2 separate regions of the Homo sapiens genome follow, and region 2 is linked to region 1. The links are contacts of gene promoters, found by promoter capture Hi-C in blood cells and fetal thymus (Javierre and others, 2016). All regions are on one chromosome and are shown on one strand. The core of a region is centred on a gene start or on the middle of the fragment in contact, and the rest is flanking DNA. Distances in the headings are between cores, read along the strand shown.

Region 1 (4,164 bases), core at 823-3,322:
GATTTCTGACCCTCAGATCCTCTCTGGGTCCACACAGGATAATGCACACGCTGCCCACAGAAACTCAGTTTGGTACCACCTCTCCCCAGCCCTGTAACACACAAGCATTCACACACACACATACACATGCACCACACACACACACACACACACACACACACACACACACACACTTCCCATCTAGATTGCATCTAGATTGCAAATTCTCTAAAACCTCCACGGGAATTTTTCAGATGCAGCCAAGAAGAGTCTGGGGCAAATGTGTGCTCACTAATTGCTGGCCTTGGTACAGAGTCTGATTCGGGAGACAGCTCTCCTCAGGGTCAGATTTCTGTCTCTGACCAGCTGGGGGCCATGAAAATGTGCTCGAAAGTTATCAAAATATGCACACCTTTCCTGAGAGCCACTGCAGTCACCGAGGAGTGTGGGAAGGAGGAGTAGGTAGGTTTCAAAGGAGCCAGCAGCCTTCTCCAAAGCCCTGTTCAAAAATCTCCTGGTGTAGTCACCTCTGCGAGCAGTACAAAGGCCCTGCATGTGACCAAAATCTACACACACACAGCCCATTACGGGGACTCTCATGGCCTCACGCTATTAAGGTGGCCCCTTAATACTAGGAATTCACACAGAAACACATTCTGCAGGAGAGTCACAGAAAACAAAGTATAAAGGTCTGTAAATACACACACTCAAACACACCCAAACACACACACACACATTCTACTAGCTTACTGGGTCTAGAAAAGAAAAGGATCAAGTTTCCTCAAGAATTCACAAGTGAGACAGAACAGGGGAAGAGAAATGCTATTTTTTTATTACTTGTCATGGTCAATATCTTTAACCTTGGGCCCCCCTCTCCAAGCTCCTGACTTCTTGGCATTATCCACCGGGTTCTCCATCCAAGACACACCTGCCCCTTTTCGGGTGCTGAATGTTACATACCCCAAGCCCCATACCCAAAGCCCTCAGGTCCCATTGTCTGCCTGTGTTGGGGATGGCTGGGTGTGGAGGGAGGCGGGTGAGTAGGGGACCAACGCGTGGCACCTGCAGGGGAAGAATTCTCAAGGCTCTGGGGCAAACAATGGAGAAGAAGGGGCAGACCAGAAACTTCGCCTCCATCCCACCCTGCTGCCCTTCGTCAGGAGCAAGCTCTGGGAGCGGGAATCTGCGCAGCTGGCTCAGAACGCGGCCGTAGCCCCATGTGCCCAAAAGGAGACATTGTGCTTGGCGAGTGTGGGAAGTGTCCCTCCTGGGTGCAAGGAAGGCTTTCTGACACCAGTTCGCAGGCACCCTGGAGGAATAAAGCGCTGGCGCAGTGAGGAGGGCCTGAGGGTGCGGAGTGCAGGGTGCAGGGTGCAGGTGTGAGGACGGAAGCTGACAACCCCGCCGAGGGCCCTTTGAATCCCAGGGATGGGGAAACCACGGCGCTCCTGGCTCCTGGCTCGGGAAAGACCCCGGCAGGCACTGACCCGTCTGTGGGCTGCGGAGCCCGGACGGGCCCCAATGGTCCTGCCCCCACCCCCAAGTCCGGAATTGCGTCTGGGTGGGAGGGCAACCTCGGAGCCAGGGAGCCAGGGGCGGGGACCATACTCACAGGCGCTCGGTGTTCCGAGGTATATTCTTGGGAATGGCCTGCAGCCCCGTGCCGTGGCAGTCCACCGTGGTTCCGGTGCAGGTGCAGAGGGCGGGGCACGCCGAGGCACCCAGGCGCCACGCGGCTGCCCACAGCAGCAGCCAGAGCTCCGGCCGGACCGGCCCCGCCGAGGACCCCCACCCGGGAGTCAGCGCCATGGTGCCCTCACAGCGTCCCGCTCGCGAGCCAGACGGCAGCAGCCGCTGACCATCCCCGTCCGGGGCCGCCTCCAGGTGCAGTCCCGGGGCAGAGCCACCGAAGAGCCCGCGGGCTTGCGCGCGGCGCCCCTGCGGGCTGGGAGGCACCTTGCTCCTCCAAGCGACGGCGCCTGTGCGCGGACGGAGGGAGGGCGCCTTGGGCGGAGGGGGCTCGGCTCCTCTGCCGTTTCGCCGCCTGCGTCTCCCTCTCCCTCCCTCCAGCTCCCAACTGACTGCTGCGAGGAGGAAAATGGGCAGGCCCCGCGCGCGCACGCACCCTGCGCACACACCACACACACACACACGATCACACACACACCCGCGCGCTCGCTCCCACCCGGCAGTCATCCATCAATCGAAAAGCACACATCCAGGGCCAGGCTCCTCCCCGCCCTCCCCCGCCGCAGCCCCCCTCTCCCGACGACCACTCAGCGGCTGCAAGCCGCCTACAGTTTCAAAGGTGGAACCTCCGAGGCGCCGTCAGCGGGCACGGGGCTGCGGGGGATGGGAGAAGAGGGAAGGGGGTGTGACTCGACCCGCCAAGTCCTGGCTGTACACACACACACACACACACACACACACACACACACACACACACGGCGAGGATGCGCACATTTAGACGCACGCACCCCGGCACCCGCGGCCCCAGCTGCTAGTCCAGGGTGGGAGGGAGATCTTATTTTGCCGCTTGGACGCCTTCCCGGGGAGTCAGACCCGTTTCCCCCCATCCCCCGACGGCAGCAGCGGCCTCTCGGCCCCACCCGACTCGCTGTGTCAATTCTTGGTTAAGGGAAACCCTGTGCCTGTGCCCCAGGTAGCATCCTCAAGCCACCAACCTTACTTAGCCTGGACTTTGAGGATGGAGCTTTGTCGGGGGGGAGGGTCCACGAAAGCGCTAGGCGGAGTACAGTCTCCTTCCTACCTCAATGCACCCACTTCTCAGAGGGGAACAAGCTAGCCGCATGCCCAGGATGAGAATGGCTCTGATTGGAACACTTGCTCAGCAGGGCGTATTTGTACCATACAGTTACACGGGCTTCTTCCCCCGTTGTAGAAGAGAGGGACAGACATTAAGGGGACTTGGAAATCTGGCAAACGTCTTCCTCCACTCACACCAGCGTTCCTCCATTTCTGACAGGTGGAAACAGATGAAAATGAATATTCCATCTTGACATCAAAGGAGACAGAGAGGGCTGGCATAGCGCTGGGCGGCCTGCTTGGGAGAGAACCCCACAGGCCAGCCCCGTCAGACCCAGGCCTCACACCCGGCTGGGTAGGGACCTTCGTCACCGTAAGGCATGTGTGGACGTGGGTGTGAACGGGACATCCAGGTGGGGAGAGAATTCTCCTCAACCCCAGAAAAGACGAAAGATCTCCTCAACGCCAAGGACAGCTGTGGCTCGCTGGGGCAGTGTCCAGCAGTCGGGGCCTTGACGTGAGGCTGCTTGGCAAGAGGACACAGCTGGGTAGCCCGAGAAGCACCTCCCGTCTCAGGAGCGGCCTGGGTCCAGACACAGCATGGACGCATTTGGTGGGGAGAGTGTCGGGCAGGGTGGGGATAGGGGAGGTTGATAGACTCCACAAGGTTGAAGCCTTATCACCCACCAGGTACCCAAGGCTCAGGCGTTTTCTTTGCTTTTCTTTTCCATGTTGATGAGAATTTTGCAGTCTCTCTACTGTCATAGCACAGTATGTTACAATTTAGGTGGCTGATTTTATGGGCTTTTGACAGTTCTTTTAAAGTTTTCACACATCCCTGTCCATGACCTCCATCCGGTAAGTGGGTTCTTGAGCATAAGTTCAGTTTCTCAGGGGGCAGGGCTTTCTCAGGGGTGCCTGTGTGGTGGGATATTAGGGAAGCTTCCCACAAACCAGGCCGGAGTCTGAGAGGGCTGCCCCTGCCCTGCAGCTCACCAGCTCCTGCTCCATGGGGCCCCAGCCCCTCTATCCATGCTCTCCCCGCAGCCTCAGAGTGACATTCCTCCATGCCCGCTGCTTTGTTTATCCCCTCTTAGTACCTGCAGCTGCTTCTCCACACCCCTGCCCACCCCCTGGCATCCTCACTCGCTCACCCAGACACACACCCCAGCACCTGGCACTTAGTAGGCCTGTCACAGACAGCACTCAGGCTGTTGAAGATGTCTCCAGCCTTCTGCTCCAGCAGTAGCTCCCTGGTCCCAGGACCTCGGAGGGCCCCTTGGAAGCCAAGACCCATGTGGAGAAGGGAGAGAGTGTTGATTAGCCAGGCGACATGCCCCTAGGTCCTCAGAGTGACAGAGTGAAGGGGTATGAGGAAGGGTGGGAGTGAGCAGGGGTGCAAGATCAGCCCTGCCTATG
Region 2 (4,324 bases), core at 267-2,766, 130 kb before region 1:
CACAAGTCAGCACATCCTGCCTAACTGCAGGCTCAGAATTAAAGATGTAGATGAAGGGGACCATTTAATTGCCTAAGTTTAACCACACAACAGATGAGAATTTTCCTTACGTGGAAACATTCCAGTTAAATATAAGGATTCTGTTTTAAAGCATAGTCACAACTGCATTAGAAATGAAAAAAGAATGTTAGAATTCTGATATGGTTTGGATGTTCGTCCCCACCAAACCTCATGTTGAAATGTAATCCCCAGTGTTGGAGGCGGGGCCTGATGGGAGGTGTTCGGATCGGTGTTCGGTGTTTGGTCGAATTTGTATCAGTCTGCTTTTGTGTTTCTATAAAGGAATACCTGAGACTAGGTAATTTATAAAGAAAAGAGGTTTACTGGGCTGAGAGTTCTGTGGGCTGGACGAGTATGGCACCAACAACCGCTCGGCTTCTGGTGAGCCTCAGGAAGCTTACAATCGTGGCAGAAGGCGAAGCAAGACTAGGCATAAGAGTGGATCCCTCATGAATGGCTTGGTGCTGCCCTTGTGATAATGAGTGAGTTCTTACTCTGAGCTCATGCAAGATCTGATTATTTAAAAGAGCATGGCACTCCCCCTCCCTCTCTTGCTCCTCCTCTTGTCACGTGACGTGCCTACCCTTGCTTCGCCTTCTGCCATGATTGTAAGCTTCCTGAGGCCTCACCAGAAGCCAAGCAGATGTTGGTGCCGTATGTGTACACCCCATGGAACTGTCAGCCAAGTAAACCTCTTTTCTTTATAGATTACCTAGTCTCTGGTATTCCTTGATAGTAACACAAAAACAGACTGATACAAATTCAAAATCACCATTTCAGGATTGCTAATGAATTAATGGGTTCAAGCACTGAGATCAATGGCTGTTTTTATTACAAAAGGGAGACAGCCAGACATCTGTCTGCCTTCTGACGGGAAGTCCACAATCCCATCTATAAAATCATCTTGCCAAATAAATCAATCAAAACTGAACCTGACCGAGCTCCTAGATCCAATTTTCAATCTGCAGGATACAGAGAAGACAGAGGAACATGTGAAACTACACCACAGGGAAGCAATCAACAAAGTCTAGACCCTACAGAACCAATGATGCAGTGTCTTCAACAAATCAGTTACAAGGAAAAGAGAAATGGAGAGGACACATAGATAAACAGCAACTTAAGAGGTACATCAACCAACATAAACCAACATCAGCCAGTTATATTGCACAGGCTTTATTTAAATCCTGATTCAAACTATTAAAAAATTGCATAACATTCCGGGCGTGGTGGCTAACATCTGTAATCCCAGCACTTTGGGAGGCCGAGGCAGGTGGATCACGAGGTCAGGAGTTTGAGACCAGTCTGGCCAACATGGTGAAACCCCATCTCCATTAAAGATACAAAAAATTAGCCAGGCGTGGTGACGGGCGCCTGTAATCCCAGCTACTTCAGAGGCTGAGGCAGGAGAATCACTTGAACCTGGGAGGTGGAGGTTGCAGTGAGCTGAGACTGTGCCATTGCACTCCAGCCTAGGTGACAGAGCGACACTCCAGCTCAAAAAACAAAAAACAATCAAAAAAATTGCATAACATGTAAGAGACACTTGGAAATTTCAACACTAACTAGATACTCAATGATATTAAGGAATTAATTATACAGGATTGGAAGCTGGGTGATGAAAACTTGGGGGTTCACCATACATAGCACTCTGTTTTTTTTTGAAACAGGGTCTCTCCGTTGCCCAGGTGGGAGTGCAGGGGGTGTGGCCACATGTCACTGTAGCCTGAACCTCCTGGGCTCAAGCAATCATCCTACTTTAGCCTCCCAGGTAGCTGGGACTACAGGTATGTGCCATCATACCTGGCTACTTTTTAAAAAAAAATTTCTTGTGGAGATGGGGTGCCCAGCCCTGTTACCTAGGCTGGTATTGAACTCCTGGGCTCAAGCAATCCTCCTGCCTCAGCCTCCCAGAGTGTTGGGATTAGAGGCATGAGCCACCATGCCCGGCCCACAGTACTACTCTTAATCTGCTTATAATTTTCCACAATAAAATATTACAACAAATTACCAGATTTATTGCTCTCTAATTTTTTTATTCACAGTCACCATTGTCATTACCGTATTTCATCTGATTTGACATTATGAATTGTAAGAGGCACTACTATTTTTTGTACTATCAATAAAGAACAAAATGCTGCCAACTAAGTGATGTACCACTGATTATAACATGCATCCCAGTTTCAGAGCTGTTAACGTGGAAACAACATGTGTCTTAGAATCAGCGCGATATATTATCATCATCATCACCATCAATATTATTGTTAGCTAAAGGCAGCATTTATCAAGCACTTGTGATGAGCTAAGCTTCATACAAACATCCTCCTTAATCTCATAACAACCCTATGGGAAGGCATCCCCATCTTACGGATAAATAAAAATGAGGCCCAGAGAAGCTGCCCAGAATCACACAGCCAATAAGAGGCCTAGGTGGACTTTGAACCTAGGACGGTCTAACCCAGGTCTGTGTCCTTCCTCTGTAAGAGGCCACCCCCAGTGAGCACAGCAGCCCAGAGCCGGAGAGCTGCCTGTCCCTGGAGGCTGCAACCTCCCCCAGGCCCACCTGCTGGGAGGGGAGAAGAAGAAGGCATCAGGGCACTCACAGAGTCTGGATGGCCCGCAGGGAGGTGAAAGTGCCCTTGGCGAGGCTCTGGATCTTGTTGTCATACAGGGAGAGCAGTGAGAGGTTCTGCAGGTCCTGGAAGGCATCGGGCCGGATGCAGTTGATCTTGTTGGCATTCAGGAGCCTGTGGGCAGAGCCAGGACCAAGTGGTGAGGAGAGAGGCTCGACCTGAGACCCATCTCAGGTCCTGGGCACCTTCTTCAGTCCCGGCCTGCGTTATTACAGGGAGGAGCCCATCGGAGCAGGCCCAGGGAATCTGCCCTCTGGATGTCTGCCCCACGGAGAGGGGCCCGGAACTCCGACTGCCTCCTCCATGCATAGGGACATCTTGGTCAACCCACTCGTCTCTCTTTCCAAGAACTGCTAGAGATGCCCTGTGGGATTCCGGGAAAGCAGAGAGCCACCTTGTGAAGGCATTTTTGGGGGGGGCTCCTCCTCCTTCCCAGAGGTCCATTGGGTTCCCCAGGCAGCTGAGTTGGAGCATTTGTGTTCTATGCCTCTTGAGCCCTGGGAGACAATCCCTGCCTGAAAGTTCATGGTTCAAGGAGGCCGAGCTGGCCTGGGTGTCCCCCCTGCAGGAGAAAGCTCTGTCCCCAGCCACACCAAGCTCCTCAGGAGCACGGGCCGAGTCTCAGGAGCCTCTCTGCTTTGGCATCCTGTGAGCAGCTCTGAAGCTGCCTCTACCTCCTTCTCTAGCCTCTGCAGAGCCCTGGAGACTTTCTCAGCCCTAGTGGGTCTGCCTGTCTTCCAAGCTCATTGTCTCAATTGAGTCCCATACCCAAGAGAGGCCTAAAGGGACAGTCTAGCAGGCCAGAGGAAAGCTGGCCCTTCCCTGGGTCCCACCCAAGACACCCAGGATTCGTTCTTACAGGAGCTGTAGGGTGTATAGGCCTCCAAACACACCACGGGGGAGGTCTGTGATCTTGTTTCCATAGAGGACCCTGGAGAAAAGGCAGCAGAGAGGAGGGTTAGAGGACAGCCCACCAGGGCAATAGCACAACTCTGCAGACGGCCCCAGCTCAACAGCGCTGCCCCTAAGCCATTTACATGGAGCACATCCTAATGGTGTATATTTGTTATAGCAACTTGTCCACAGATGACAGTAAAGTGTCTTAAGAAAGCGTTGCCTGCTTCTTGGCGTAAAGTGCCCTATGGGCTAGAGATGCCCCTGACTCCAATCACTAACAAAGCAGCTCCTGCTTCACCGCCCTCACACGTGGACCCCACAGAAGGCTGCAAAGGGGCACTTCCTGGGAAATTCATCTGGTCCAGAATCCAAAAGGAGATTGTTGAGAGAAGAGAAAATCCCATGGGCAGGAATAATTAACATATTTTCAGAGAGTTACAGGAAAAAATAGAATGCCAGACGGCATATGCAGTGTGAGATCCGGATGGTGGGACTTCAAGCATTTTTTTTTTATACTTTAGCATTTTCAAAGTTTTCTGCATTGAGCATGAATTCCATGTATAGGTTTTTTAAAAAAACAAAAGTTCAAAAAAACACATGTAGACATGGGTGGGTTCAGGAGGACAGTGAAAACATCCAGGAGGTTTGGGGAGGGGGGTTGTATGCCATTCCCAATATCATAATCGGACCCCACAAGCTACCCTCGTAAACGTTCAAGCTGAGTAAAAAATCCTGGG

What was found. The method cuts DNA at HindIII sites, captures the fragments that hold promoters and counts their contacts. A CHiCAGO score of 5 or more calls a contact.
Region 2: a fragment that was not itself captured here is called in contact with the fragment with the promoter of SLIT1 in region 1 in 3 of 17 cell types (M1 macrophages, M0 macrophages and M2 macrophages); the score reaches 7.4 in M1 macrophages.

What each region holds. Positions count from the first base shown.
Region 1 is chr10:97,183,887-97,188,050 of GRCh38, forward strand. SLIT1 (slit guidance ligand 1) reads right to left here and starts at 2,073. Exons shown (of 37, transcript NM_003061.3): 1 at 1,592-2,073. The coding sequence starts at 1,788. All of the region lies in intron 11 of ARHGAP19-SLIT1 (ARHGAP19-SLIT1 readthrough (NMD candidate)), which reads right to left. RefSeq lists enhancers at 1,917-2,417, 2,418-2,918. The HindIII fragment of the contact is 4,998 bases long and covers 1-3,685 here.
Region 2 is chr10:97,053,661-97,057,984 of GRCh38, forward strand. It overlaps SLIT1 (slit guidance ligand 1), which reads right to left. Exons shown (of 37, transcript NM_003061.3): 12 at 3,550-3,621; 13 at 2,661-2,804. Among named protein-coding and RNA genes, the nearest start is that of SLIT1-AS1, 47 kb to the right of the region's middle. The HindIII fragment of the contact is 1,691 bases long and covers 672-2,362 here.